Linked DNA regions of Homo sapiens: all the other regions are linked to region 1. The links are contacts of gene promoters, found by promoter capture Hi-C in human tissues and cell types (Jung and others, 2019). All regions are on one chromosome and are shown on one strand. Each heading gives the region's core, a stretch centred on a gene start or on the middle of the fragment in contact. The rest is flanking DNA. Distances are from core to core; before and after follow the strand shown.

Region 1 (2,700 bases), core at 193-2,692:
GTTGACGAATCTATGTAACTCATCAATTATCTACCACATTTTCCTGTGGAAATATATTCATTGTCTACAGCCAAAATGGAAGAGAGATTTTCCCTATTTTTTTCCTTGGTAACTAGCATTCCTGGCTAACATACTGAAACTCCATCTCTACTAAAAATACAAAAATTAGCTGGGCGTGGTGTCGCGTGCCCATAGCCCCAACTACTCCAGAGGCTGAAGCAGAAGAATGCTTGAACCTGAGAGGCGGAGGTTGCAGTGAGCCGAGATCTGACACTGCACTCCAGCTCTGGCGACAGAGCGAGACTCCGTCTCAAAAAAAAAAAAATAAAAATAATAAATTGAGGAACATGGGGTACACTTGAGGCCTTGCTTGAGACACATGTGGAAAATGCCAGGGAAAATCAGTCCGCTGTGGCGTGTGAAAATAATTAAGTGGCAGGCAATTAGACTGAAGAAGCTCTAGTCCCTGGATTTCTACCTCAAAAAAAAAAAAATCTAAGCTCATGTGCATTTTTTGGGAAATTACTACATTAGGGGAAACAAAATTCAGGCTTAAGCAACTATAAACTGCCAATTAAACTGTAATTACATAACCAGGAATTTTTTTTTTTTTTTTGAGACGGAGTCTCACTGTCGCGCAGGCTGGAGTGCAGTGGCAAGATCTCAGCTCACTGCAACATCCACCTCCGGAGTTCAAGCGATTCTCTCACTTCTGCCTCCCGAGAAGCTGTGATTACAGACATCTGTCATCACACCCAGCTAATTTTTGCATTTTTAGTAGACATGGGGTTTCCCCATTTGGGCCAGGCTTATCTTGAAGTCCTGACCTCAAGTTATCCGCCTGCCTCGGCCTCCCAAAGTGCTGGGATTACAGGCGTGAACGACTGCGCCCGGCCCCATAAATTTTGAATAGCAGAAAACAGAAACTGTGAACTCCACGGACCAAAGCTCTTCCCATTCATGAACCTGCACCCCGAGTCAGGATTCTCCCCTGACGACCCTCTGGTGGTCCCTGCACATTCTGGGAGAGACGGGAGGCTGCGGTTGCAGAGCTGCCCACGGAGCGCTCCAGGCCAGAGCAGTCACTACGCAGGGAAGACACAGGACGCCAGGGGGCCCGGCTGTCAGCGTAGCCGCCAAATTATGGCTGAACGGGACTGAGGCCGAGCTGGGCAAGGAGAACTCAGGGTGCAGATTGTGGAGCTGACTGCGCAGAGGCCTGAGTCCCGCCACAGCCACTTCCCACCGGTTCCAACCAGCCTATCCCCCTCTCTCGGGATGTCGGACCGGCACTCTCACCATTTCTAGGCTTCCAGGGGCTCCCGGGCGTCTTAGCTGTGGATCTCCCAATACCTGCAGGACACAGGGCCACAGAGGCTGGGCCTCTAGGAGCAGAGGACACACAGCAGTGAAGACAAGACCTGGAGCTCCGGCTGCAGAGACAAAGGCCCCGCAAAACCCGGAAGCCTTCCGCTTCACTCTGGCTGCGTGCCTGATTGGACGGCTTCCAGCCCAGCGTCCCTGATTGGATAATGCTTAAATCCCCGCCCCCTCAGGCCCTGAGTGACAGAAGATATGATCAGATGCTGGGTTAAGTGAACAAAGAGTGCCAGCCTAAGCAGCTGGCTTTTCAAACAGTGCTTCCTCCCTGAGCTGAGCCAGGCCCACCCCAGAGCATGGGAATATTTTATCTCTTGTTTACTCTCTTTCTTGTTGAATGTATTAAAAAGGTGAACAGAAGTATTTTGCTGTCATTAATAATACATAAAATTTTTGTTCAACAGAAAATCAACTTTTACTTTGGTAATGGTAAAATCTATTAAAGCTAATTTTAATAAAACCTTATAAATAAATCAAATTTGTCATTTTTGAGCACTCCAGATTTACATATATATTTTGTAATATCTCGTAATTTTAAAAAACTATTTATATTTTATTTTTGTCCACATTCTTTTTATTTTTTCAATTTGAAACAATCTTTAATTTCCAACAGCTATAGGAGATAGAAATCATTTAGAGGCAGGCACGGATAGTTCACGCTGGTAATTCCAACACTTTGGGAGGCCAAGGTGAGCAGATCACTTGAGGTCAGGAGTTCAAGACAAGCCTAGCCAACATGGTGAAACCCCATCTCTAATAATAACTAATAAATAATAATAATAACTAATAATATAAAAAGTTACCTGGGTGTGGGGGTGCACATCTGTAGTCCCAGCTACACCGGAGGCTGAGGCAGGAGAATCACTTGAAGCCAGGAGGCGGAGGTTGTGTAACAGCCCAAGGGGTTTATTTTACCCTTTGCCTAGACAGAGCCGATTCATCAAGACAGGGGAATTTGTGGAGGAAAAGTCACATATTAAATCTGAACTCAATTGAATGTGGACACAAACAATTGTCACCAAGTCCCAGAACAGGTTGTGTGAGCCCCTGAGGTGTTCATCCAGCGCTGTATTGAAGAAATCTCTATTTCAATCTATTCCTATATATTAGTTGTTGAAAAACAATAGACAATCACAAAAAAAGGTTGACCTTTTTGTGTTCCTTGAGGCAAGTCGTGAAGGGCTCTCATCACTGGGCCTTATGCCAAACAACTCGTTACAAAAGAGCTAAGGTCCCAGACCGCCCTGAAGCTTCATAAGACCTCTCCTTGTCTGTGTACGATGGACGGGTGGCTGACTCTAGAGCTGTGGCTGTTGCCTC
Region 2 (2,700 bases), core at 184-2,683, 830 kb after region 1:
GCTATTGGCCATGTATGGCCGGCTACTGGGTGCCTGGAATGTCGCTGCAATTTGCTAGAAAGGTAAAATACAGAGTTAGTTTCAAAGATACAGTTCCAAATATATATATACTTCATTAATCTTTACATATTGCTCACATATTACAATGATAATATTTTGGATATATTGGGTTAATTAAATTGTTACAATGAATTTCACCTGTTTCTTCTCCTTCTTTTTAAAATTTTTTTATTTTTGAGATGGAGTCTTGCTCTGTTTCCCAGACTGGAGTGCAATGGCGTGATCTTGGCTCACCTCAACCTCTGCCTCCTGGGTTTAAGTGATTCTCCTGCCTCAGCCTCTCTATTAGCTGGGATTACAGGCACCTGCCATCATACCCAGATAATTTTTGTATTTTTGTAGAGACGGGGTTTCACCATGTTGGCTAGGCTGGTCTTGCACTCCTGACCTCGGGTGATCCGCCTGCCTCGGCCTCCCCAAGTGCTGAGATAACAGGCATGGGACACTACACCCGGCTTTCTTTTCTTTCACTTTTATTTTCTTTCTTCTCTTCTCTTCACTTTTCTTTCTTCTTTTTCCTTCCTTCCTTTTCCTTCCTTCCCTCTTTCCTTCTCTCTCTCTCTCTTTCACTCTTTCTTTCTCTCTCTCTCTTTCTCTCTTCTTTTTTTTTCTTGAGATGGAGTTTCACTCTTGTTGACCAGGCTGGAGTGTGCAGTGGGGCGATCTCGGCTCACTGCAACCTCTGCCTCCCTCCACCTCCCGGGTTCAAGCGATTATTTTGCCTCAGCCTCCCGAGTAGCTGGGATAACAGGCGCCCACCACCACGCCTGGTTATTTTTTCTTATTTTTAGTAGGGACGGGGTTTCATCATGTTGGCCAGGCTGGTCTCAAACTCCTGACCTCAGGCGATCCACCCGCCTCGGCCTCCCAAAGTGCTGGGATTACAGGCGTGAGCCACTGCGCCCGGCCCTTCTTTATTTTTAAAGTCTGGCTACTAGAAAATTTAAAATTCACATGTGGCTCACATCTTATTTCATAAGATTGGCTCCTTTTAAAAATCTCAGGCTGCTAGTTCAAAGGACTAGGAGCCAGGAAGGTCATAAAAGCTGAAATTTTAAAATAATTATTTTTTTAAATTTGTGAATAGCCATATATTATTTATAAGTGCTTATGACCTTATACACAAGGTTAAGGGAAAATACCCTCTAAGGTGTGCCTGGCTCAGCTCAGGGAGGAAGCCCTGCCTGAAAAGGCTGCAGCCTAGGCTATCACTCTTTCTTCACTCCGCCCAGCATTTGGTCATATCTTCTGTCACTCAGGGCCTGAAGGGGCGGGCCCTTAAACCGTATCCAATCAGACACGCAGAACTGGGAACCGTCCAATTAGGCACACATTTGGAGCGGCGAGGACGGCTTCCGGGATGTGGCTGGGCCATTGTTTCTCTCTGCTGCCGGAGCTCCAGGTCTACCCTTCACTGCTCTGTGTCCTCAGCGTGTGTGGCTTCGTGACCTGAAGATACTGGGAAATCCATAGCTAAGATGCCAGGACCCCCTGAAAGCCTAGACATGGTGAGAGTGCTGGGTCCGACATCACGAGAGAGGGGAAGGAGTTGCTCGGAACCGGTGGGAAGTGGCTGTGGCGGGACTCAGGCCTCCCCGCAGTCAGCTCCACAATCTGCTCCCTGAGTTCTCCTTGCCCAGCTCGGCCTCAGTCTCCTTCAGCCGTAAGTTGGCGGCTGCGCCAACAGCCGGGGCCCCGGGCGTCCTGTCTCTTCCCTGCACTGTGACTGTGCCCTGCCTGGAGTCCTCTCTGGCAGTTCTGCACCCGCAGCGCCGCGTCTTTCTCAGATTGTGCGGGGACCACGGGAGGGTCATCAGGGGAGAATCCTGACTTGGGGTGCGGGTTCATGAATGGGAAGAGCTTTGGTCCGTGGGGTTCCCAGTTGCTATTTTCTCCTATTAAAAATTTATGGGCGTCACTGCAAAAATATTAAAGAATGTAATCAAAGAGTGGTTCTAGAATTGTAGAGCACCCAGCTATGGTTTGTAGTTTGTGGTCTGTGGGAGAGGCTTGAAGGAAAGTCTTTTATAAAATGCATGATGAAGAAACCAAATTTACTAATTGGTTAGGTACAGTTACATGGTTTCTTAATATGTGCGTTAAAGGTGAAAATTTCCTGGTTATGTAATCAGAGCTTAATTGGCAGTTTACAGTTGCTGAAGCCTGAATTTTGTTTCTCTGAATGTAGTAATTAAAAATAATGCACCTGAGTTAGATTTTTTTTTTAAAGTAAGAATTCAGGGACTAGAAATACCTCAGTCTAATTGCCTGCCACTTAATTATTTTCACACTCCACAGGGAACTGATTTTCTGCTGTATTTTTCACCTGTGTCCCAAGCAGAGTCTTGGAACCAATCCCCCATTTCTCCGGCCTCACTCTGGCTTGCAGTAAGATAATTTCCAGTTTCCTCTGACGTTCCTAAATGCCACCTTTTCCTCCCTAATTCACATTATCGCCTATTTGTCTTTTACTGTACTTTTTTATACCATATTTTAATTATTTTTTTGGCAAAGCATTAAATGGTTAAATGGTGCATTTAAAGAGATTTGTTATCTGTTTGTAAATATTTCCCATGAAAAGAAGGCAAATAATAATACCCTGACACTGCATTGTAGTAAATCTCTGTCTCTTTTGCTTTC
Region 3 (2,700 bases), core at 140-2,639, 790 kb after region 1:
CCTCAGAACTGAAGATAGATGTTAGTAGGGAGAGGCCCTTCCTTCCCCTCTGGCCCTTCACACCATTGACATCAGAGCTGCCATGTGTGGCTCCTGGGTGCCTGGAATGTGCTTGGTCTGAACCGCGATATGCTAGAAAGGTAAAACACAGAGTTATTTTCAAAAATTTAGTTGCAAATATTTATATACTTCATTAATAATTACATATTCCTCACACATTAAAATGATATTTTGTATATATTAGGTTAATTACATTGTTACAATCAATTCAACCTGTTCCTTGTTATTGTTGTTGTTGTTGTTGCTGTTGTTGCAGTCTGTCACTAGGCTGGAGTGCAGTGGCGCAATCTCGGCTCACTGCAACCTCTGCCTCCCGGGTTCAAGCGATTCTCCTGCCTCAGCCTCCCCAGTAGCTGGGATTACAGGCATGCGCCACCACGCCTGGCTAATTTTTATATTTTTTTCAGTAGAGACAGGGTTTAGCCATATTGCCAGGAGGGTCTCAATCACTTGATCTCGTGATCCACCAGCCTCGGCCTCCCAAAGTGCTGGGATTACAGGCGTGAGCCACTGCGCGTGGCCTCTTGTTTCTTTATATTTTTCACCCCCCAAAACGGAGTCTCGCTCTGTCCGCCCAGGCTGGAGTGCAGTGGCGCGATCTCTGCTCACTGCAACCTCCTCCGCCTCCCGGGTTCAAGCAATTCTCCTGCCTCAGCCTCCTGCGTAGCTGGGATTACAGATGTCCACCACCACGCCCGGCTAATTTTTGTATTTTTAGTAGAGACGTGGTTTCACCATGTTAGCCAGGCTGGTCTCAAACTCCTGACCTCTTGATCTGCCCGCCTTGTACTCCTAAAGTCCTAGGATTACAGGCGTGAGCCACCATGCCTGGCCCCTTGTTTCTTTTTAATTTTCTAGTTTGGCTACCAGAAAATTCAAAATTCACGTGGCTCACATTTTATTTCAGAGGATTACCTCCTTTTTAAAATCTCAGGCTGCCTGCTCAAAGGACCGTAAGCCAGGAAAGTAAAAAAACCCTGAAATTTTAAAACATTTGTTATTATATCCTTTTCATTTATGTATAGCCATATGATATAGTATTTACAAATGCATATGACCTTATACGCAAGGTTGAATGCAAATACCCTTTGGGGTGGGCCTATCTCAGCTCAAGGAGGAAGCCCTGCCTGAAAAGGCTGCAGCCTAGGCGGTCACTCTTTCTTCATTCAGCCCAGCATCTAATTACATCTTCTGTCAGTCAGGGCCTGAGAGGGTGGGGTTTTAAACGTTATCCAATCAGCGACGCTGGGCTGGGAACTGTCCAATCAGGCACGCAGCTTGAGCGGAGAGGACGGCTTCCGGGATGTGGCGGGATTTGTCCGCTTCTTTGTCTTTGGCTGCCGCTGGAACTCCGGGTCTCGTCTTCACTGCTCTGTGTCCTCTGCTCCTAGAGGCCCAGCCTCTGGTCCTGTGACCTGCAGGTATTGGGAATCCACAGCTAAGACGCCGGGACACCCTGGAAGCCTAGAAATGGTGAGAGTGCGGGGTCCAACATCCCGAGAGAGGGGAAGGGCTGGTTGGAACCGGTGGGAAGTGGCTGTGGCGAGACTCAGGCCTCCCCGCAGTCAGCTCTACAATCTGCGCCCCGAGTTCTCCTTGCCCAGCTCGGCCTCAGTCGCCTTCAGCCATAAGATGGCGGTTGCGCCGACAGCCCGGCCCCCGGGCGTCCTGTCTCTTCCCTGCATAGTGACTGTGCCCTTGCCTGGAGCCCTCTCTGGGGAATCTCTGCACCCGCAGCGCCGCTTCTCTACCGGATTGTGCAGGGACCGTGGGAGGGTCGTCAGGGGAGAATCCTGACTTGGGGTGCGGGTTCATGAATGGGAAGAGGTTTGTTCCGTGGGGTTCCCAGTTCCTATTATCTCCTATTAAAAGTTAATGGGAGTCACTGCAAAAATATTAAAAGAATTTAATCAAAGAGTGGTTCTAGGCTGGGCGCGGTGGCTCACGCCTGTAATCCCAGCACTTTGGAAGGCCGAGGTGGGCGGATCAGAGGTCAGGAGATCAAGACCATCCTGGCTAACACGGTGAAACCCCGTCTCTACTAAAAATACAAAAAATGAGCCGGGCGTGGTGGCGGGCGCCTGTAGTCCCAGCTACTCAGGAGGCTGAGGCAGGAGAATGGCGTGAACCCAGGAGGCAGAGCTTGCAGTGAGCCGAGATCGTGCCACTGCACTCCAGCCTGGGCGACAGAGCGAGACTCTTGTCTCAAAAAAAAAATTAACTTATTAAATAATTTAATCAAAAAGTGGTTCTAGAATTGTAGAGCACCAAGCTGTGGTTTTTAGTTTGTGGTCTATGGGAGAGGCTTGAAAGAAAGTCTTTTGTAAAATGCATGATGAAGAAAACCAAATTTAGTAATTGGTTAGGTACAGTTACGTGGTTTTTTAATTTGTACATTAAAGGTGAAAATTTCCTGGTTATGTAATCGGAGCTCAATTGGCAGTTTATAGTAGGTGAAGCCTCAATTTTGTTTCTCTGAATTTAGTAATTAAAAATAATGCGCCTGAGTTAGATTTTTTAAATTGAAGTAGGAACCCAGGGACTAGAGAAACCTCAGTCTAATTGCCTGCCACTTAATTATTTTCACACTCCACAGGGAACTGATTTTCTGCTGCATTTTTCACCTGGGTCCCAATCAGG
Region 4 (2,700 bases), core at 107-2,606, 560 kb after region 1:
ATACTGTAGCAGGATTGATAAGAAATCAGAGAGACTGATGGGGTTGAGGAGGATATTTATTATTTAGGTGCACTGGCCTAGTCGGATTAACATCCAAAGGACTGAGCCCTGAACAAAGAGTTAAGTTACCCTTTAAGCATTTTGTGGGATGGCAGGGGGAGATCTGTGCAGGGAGAAGCATATTACAGAAGCGAGAAACAAAGACAGTTATTCAATTAATTGTGACATGCATTACATAATTTTTTACTTTCCAAGGAAAAACATGTTTTACAACTTGAGTTTATCTATCTAGTGACCTTGCAGCTGCACAGCTAGAGAAACAGGGTCTTCAAAATGCCTGGGAAAGGAGGAGAGATAAGCCTTGCTAGCCACAGAAAAACAGGCCGTTAATTTTTAAAGGACTCCAGCTCTTTCTCTTTCTCAGGAGGAATTGGGTTTTCTTACATACAACTGAGTTTCTGCTTACACATTCTTTAATTTCTTTTAATTTCTGTTCCAATACTATTTTTTTGGTCACAAATTTTTCACTTTTTTTTTTTCTTTCTTTGAAACGGATCTCACTCTGTTGCCCAGGCTGGAGTGCAGTGGCGTGATCTTGGCTCACTGCAAGCTCTGCCTCCCAGATTCACACCATTCTCCTGCCTCAGCCTCCTGAGTAGCTGGGACTGCAGGTGCCCACCACCACACCTGGCTAATTTTTTGTATTTTTAGTAGAGACTGGGTTTCACTGTGTTAGCCAGGATGGTCTCAATCTCCTGACCTCGTGCTCTGCCTGCCTTGGCCTCCCGAAGTGCTGGGATTACAGGCATGAGCCACCGCATCTGGCCCAATTTTTTTACTCTTTTTCTTTTACTATATTTATTTCACTATTCTTCTGCCCCCTTACATAATTTCTATCCAGGGGGTAGAAATTATGTCTGTGTTTTCCCCTCATTATCAGCATCTGATTGGCTGACCAGCAATTTGTCTCCAAGAAATGAAAGCTGGGTTAGGTGAAGGCAATTTTAACAGCTTTTCAAAGTTAGAGTACACCAGAAGATTCCTCTTAGCCCCAGGGTATCCACTTGCTCCCTAGAAAGGATACACTCCATACTTCAGGTCATCCTAAGGGAGAAAATAAACCAGAAGCTGATATCCACCGGACATTCAAGCTGACATAAGCATGGCAGATATCTCGGTTTATCCCCAGATAGTACTAAGCCCAGGACCAGCAAAAAACTAAAGGGTGGCTGAGGACACATCACCCCATAAATTTTCCAAAGCAGAACTTTGACCCAAAAACATTCTGATAAGATCTCTGTGCCTAGAGAAGATAAAACGAAAAGAGACACAGAGATTTTCTACAATACAACATCGGGGGATTATTATTTGCTTTCTCCTCATGGGAAATATTTACAAACAGTTAATACAACTTCTTAAAAGCACCATTTAATGTTTTACCAAAAAATAATTAATTAAAATATGATATAAAAAAAGTACACTAAAAGACAAAGAAGTGATAATGTGAATTAGGAAGGAAAAGTTGGCATTTAGGAATGCCAGAAGAACCTGGAAATTTAGTATCTTACTGCAAGCCACAGTGAGGCTGGAGATATGGGGCATGGGAGTTTAGACTTAAAAACCCTGCTTGGGACACAGGTGAAAAATGCAGCAGAAAATCAGTTCCCCGTGCTGTGTGAAAATAATTAAGTGGCAGGCAATTAGACTGAGGTGTCTCTAGTCCCTGGGTTCATACTTTAAAAAAAACTAACTCAGGTGCATTATTTTTAATTACTACATTCAGAGAAACAAAATTCAGGCTTCACCAACTATAAACTGCCCATTAAGCTCTGATTACATAACCAGGAAATTTTCACCTTTAATCTATTGAAGTAGGAACTTAAGAAAATAACAGAATAATAGCATAAGTAATAATAGTAAAGATTATAGTAATAGAGAAATAACAATAGCTCATAGAATGAATTGCTGTATTAACCAAGGCTAACAAGAATTTAAGTAGCCCCCCTGAAGTTAGAAGAGAATATTAACTGTCTGTCCCAGGAAACATTAACCATATCTACCTTCCACATATTTTGTAGGCTCTGTAAACTCTTGTTTCTTTCTTCCTTGCACAGCTGCAAGGTCACAAGACAGATAAGCATAAGCTGCAAACTAAGTTTTCCCAGAGATGTAAGACATGTTGCAAAAGTGTCACAGCAGCCTTTGTTCTCATTTCTGTAAGCCTGCTTCCTGCTTCACACAGTGCCCACCTCAAAATGCTTAAAGGGGACTCATTTTCTTTGCTCTGGGCTCAGAGTTTCAGGACATGTGTCCGCTGTGCCAGTGTACACCTTAAATAAACACTTTCCTTCACTCCATTTCGTCTCTCCAGTTCCTTACTTTCCCACAACAGTACAAATTAAGAAACCACGTAATTGTACCTAACCAATTACTAAATTTGGTTTTCTTCATTATGCATTTTACAAAATGTCAAGCGCATCCAGGTGAAGAGACCACCAAACAGGATTTGTGTGAGCAACAAGCCTGTTTATTCACTTGGGTGCAAGTGGGCTAAGTCCAGAAAGAGAGTCAGCAAAGGGAGATAGGAGCGGGGCAGCTTTATCGGGAACAAGTCATAATGGTAGAATGTCATAAGGTGGGTTAACTAGTTAAGGCAGGAACTGGCTGTTCCACTTCTTTGTGATTTTTTGGCTGCTCCAG
Region 5 (2,700 bases), core at 31-2,530, 930 kb after region 1:
TTTGGGTATTGTGATGTATAGCTGGGCTCAACACCTAGCAGTTGGGGAGCTCCTTTCTTGACCATTCCCACAAATGACATATCTCTGCTATGACCGCCTATGACACATGACCTAAATATGTGACCCTTCTTTTCTGCCTGTACCCTGCTAACAGAGAAGATTGTGACAAATTGCTAAGTGCATTGTATCTTGTGCTAACCTTCTATCTCAGCCTGTGACCAAGAATGCCTAACTGCCGGGGAATGCAGCCCTGTAGGTCTCAACCTCAATTTGCCCAGCCACTATTCAAAATAGAGTCACTCTGGTTTAAATGCCTCTGACATTAAGATACACTGTAAAATTATGAAAAAAGTTGATTTGAATTTTAGCAAATGAGAAATGAAATAATTAGAATGGGCTATTCTGAAAGATATAGCATTAGTTATATTTGTGTTTGAGTTTTCTATTAACCTATATTTGTTACTTATGAATAGATACCTTGTTTTATTCTGTCTAAACAGATACACTAGGTGGGGTGCGGTGGCCATGCCTGTAATCCCAGCACTTTGGGAGGCCGAGGGGAGTGGATCACCTGAGGTCAGGAATTTGGGACAAGCCTGACCAACATGGCAAAACCCTGTCTCTACTAAAAATACAAAAATCAGCTGACCATGGTGGCGGGTGCCTGTAATCCCAGCTACTTCAGAGGCTGAGGCAGGAGAATTGCTTGAACCCGAGAGGTGGAGGTTGCAGTGAGCCAAGATCATGCCACTGCATTCCACCCTGGGTGACAGAGCGAGACTCTGTCTCAAAAAATAAGAAAAAATAAGCGGCCGGGCATGCTGGCTCACGCCTGTAATCCCAACACTTTGGGAGGCCGAGGAGGGTGGATCGCAAGGTCAGGAGTTCAAGACCAGCCTGGCCAAGATGGTGAAACCCTGTCTCTACTAAAAATACAAAAATTAGCCACGTGTGTTGGCAGGTGCCTGTAATCCCAGCTACTCGGGAGGCTGAGGCAGAGAATTGCTTGAACCCAGGAGGCAGAGTTTGCAGTGAGCCGAGATCTCACCATTGCACTCCAGCCTGGGTGACAGAGGGAGATTCTGTCTCAAAAAAAAAAAAAGGACATAAATTTAATGTTAAGTGTGGACTCATAAAGAATCTAGACAGCCACCAAGCCATTTGTTTATTCTTGATTTCTTAAAGCTTCCATTATTAAAAGCTCTGCATTCCATTACTCATCACAGAAAATAATCTAAATTAAATATGAATTAAGTTTGTGTGTGTGTGTGTGTGTGTGTGTGTGTGTGTGTGTGTGTGTGGTGATTATTCTAAATTACTAAACAGATTAAGGCCAATTTTTTTATGTCAAACATATAATTCTGAGAAACAATCAATACTTTATGTACATTTCTGTTACCTAATAGGCTATTTAAGCATTTATACAGAAATTTTATACAGTTGTCATTTTTAATGCATGTTTTCTGATAGTATAAAAGCTTTCTCATGCAAGAAGGCTGATGTTATAATAGTAGCTAAAAGAATATTAGAAAATATGTTTTTTTTTCATGGGACATTTCTGAAAGGTCTCTAATGATCAAGATACTTATTTCACTAGACAAGTTGTAAAACTGTTAAATAAGGTATTGTTCCTGGACCAAACTGAGAGTTGGGCTGCTATTTCTCATGGCCCAATAACGAGATGCAGATGAACTGGGGAGGAAGAGAGTTTTATTTCTGCAACCAGTTACAGGGAGAAGGCCTGGAAATTATCACCAGACCAACTCAAAATTACAACGTTTTCCAGAGCCTATATACCTTCTAAGCTATATGTCTACATGTAAGTGTGCATTCATCTAAAGAGATAAGTGATTAACTTCTTTTATTTAATCTGTAACTAAGGTCTGAGTCTTGAAGACCTTCCCCTGCAGCCTCAGTAAATTTACTTAATCTAAATGGGTCCAGGTGCTGGGGTAATTACCCTTATCTTGTCTCCTGCTAAATCACAGTGGTTTGGTGAATTCCTTCAGACCTCCAATAAACCTGTTTGTAGAGGCCTGGGGAATTTCTTCAGACCCCCAATAAAACTTGTTTAATCCTATAAGGCCCAAGAAAGGCCTAGGCGAAACTCTTGATGGGCTTTTGTTACATCCCAGCCTTTGTATAAGGTCACTGGCTTTTTTTTTTTTTTTAATTGAGACGGGGTCTCACTCTGTCACCAGGCTGGAGTGCAGCTGTACAATCTCAGCTCACTGCAAACTCCGCCTCCAGGGTTCAAGCCATCCTTCTGCCTCAGCCTCCCAAATAGTTGGGACTACAGGCACATGCCACCACGCCCAGCTAATTTTTTTGTATTTTTAGTAGAGACGGGGTTTCACCATGTTGGCCAGGATGGTATCGATCTCTTGACCTTGTGATCCGCCTGCCTCGGCCTCCCAAGGTGCTGGGATTATAGGTGTGAGCCACTGCGCCCGGCTGGTCACTGGCTTTTAATATTTAACTTAACCACTCAGTCAGTACTGAAACAGTTGTTAGTGAGGTCTGGCCTGCCACAGTATTACAGGTACAATAGTATTGAGCAAAGCTAACTAAATTGACTGGATTGCTTTTGTAATTGCAGATTGATGACAATCAGATTCACTTAGAGTGGAAAAAGTATGTTGGCCCTTATAAAATAGTCATTAGAAGGCCTATGTGCGTAATAGAACCTCATGTGTCTTC

Evidence for each region. The method cuts DNA at HindIII sites, captures the fragments that hold promoters and counts their contacts. A contact is called where the count stands out against the background at its distance.
Region 2: a contact is called between the fragment with the promoter of ZNF493 here and the fragment with the promoter of ZNF737 in region 1, in 1 of the 25 tissues and cell types used here (spleen).
Region 3: the fragment with the promoter of ZNF738 here is called in contact with the fragment with the promoter of ZNF737 in region 1 in 1 of the 25 tissues and cell types used here (small bowel).
Region 4: a contact is called between a fragment that was not itself captured here and the fragment with the promoter of ZNF737 in region 1, in 1 of the 25 tissues and cell types used here (adrenal gland).
Region 5: a fragment that was not itself captured here is called in contact with the fragment with the promoter of ZNF737 in region 1 in 1 of the 25 tissues and cell types used here (dorsolateral prefrontal cortex).

Annotation. Positions count from the first base shown.
Region 1 is chr19:20,564,339-20,567,038 of GRCh38, forward strand. It overlaps ZNF737 (zinc finger protein 737), which reads right to left and starts at 1,443. Exons shown (of 4, transcript NM_001159293.2): 1 at 1,300-1,443. The coding sequence starts at 1,302. All of the region lies in intron 2 of LOC105372316 (a long non-coding RNA gene), which reads left to right. RefSeq lists enhancers at 876-1,035, 1,246-1,295. The HindIII fragment of the contact is 4,540 bases long and covers 1-2,700 here.
Region 2 is chr19:21,395,700-21,398,399 of GRCh38, forward strand. It overlaps ZNF493 (zinc finger protein 493), which reads left to right and starts at 1,434. Exons shown (of 4, transcript NM_001076678.3): 1 at 1,434-1,568. The coding sequence starts at 1,539. RefSeq lists a silencer at 1,473-1,711. The HindIII fragment of the contact is 12,821 bases long and covers 1-2,700 here.
Region 3 is chr19:21,357,611-21,360,310 of GRCh38, forward strand. It overlaps ZNF738 (zinc finger protein 738), which reads left to right and starts at 1,390. Exons shown (of 5, transcript NM_001355237.2): 1 at 1,390-1,533. The coding sequence starts at 1,531. RefSeq lists enhancers at 103-660, 1,452-1,751. The HindIII fragment of the contact is 7,981 bases long and covers 1-2,700 here.
Region 4 is chr19:21,126,881-21,129,580 of GRCh38, forward strand. No RefSeq gene overlaps it. Among named protein-coding and RNA genes, the nearest start is that of ZNF431, 14 kb to the right of the region's middle. RefSeq lists a cis regulatory region at 1,938-2,269. The HindIII fragment of the contact is 5,563 bases long and covers 1-2,700 here.
Region 5 is chr19:21,498,672-21,501,371 of GRCh38, forward strand. It overlaps LINC00664 (long intergenic non-protein coding RNA 664), which reads left to right. Exons shown (of 11, transcript NR_037194.1): 11 at 2,600-2,700. Among named protein-coding and RNA genes, the nearest start is that of ZNF429, 5.6 kb to the right of the region's middle. The HindIII fragment of the contact is 3,356 bases long and covers 1-2,700 here.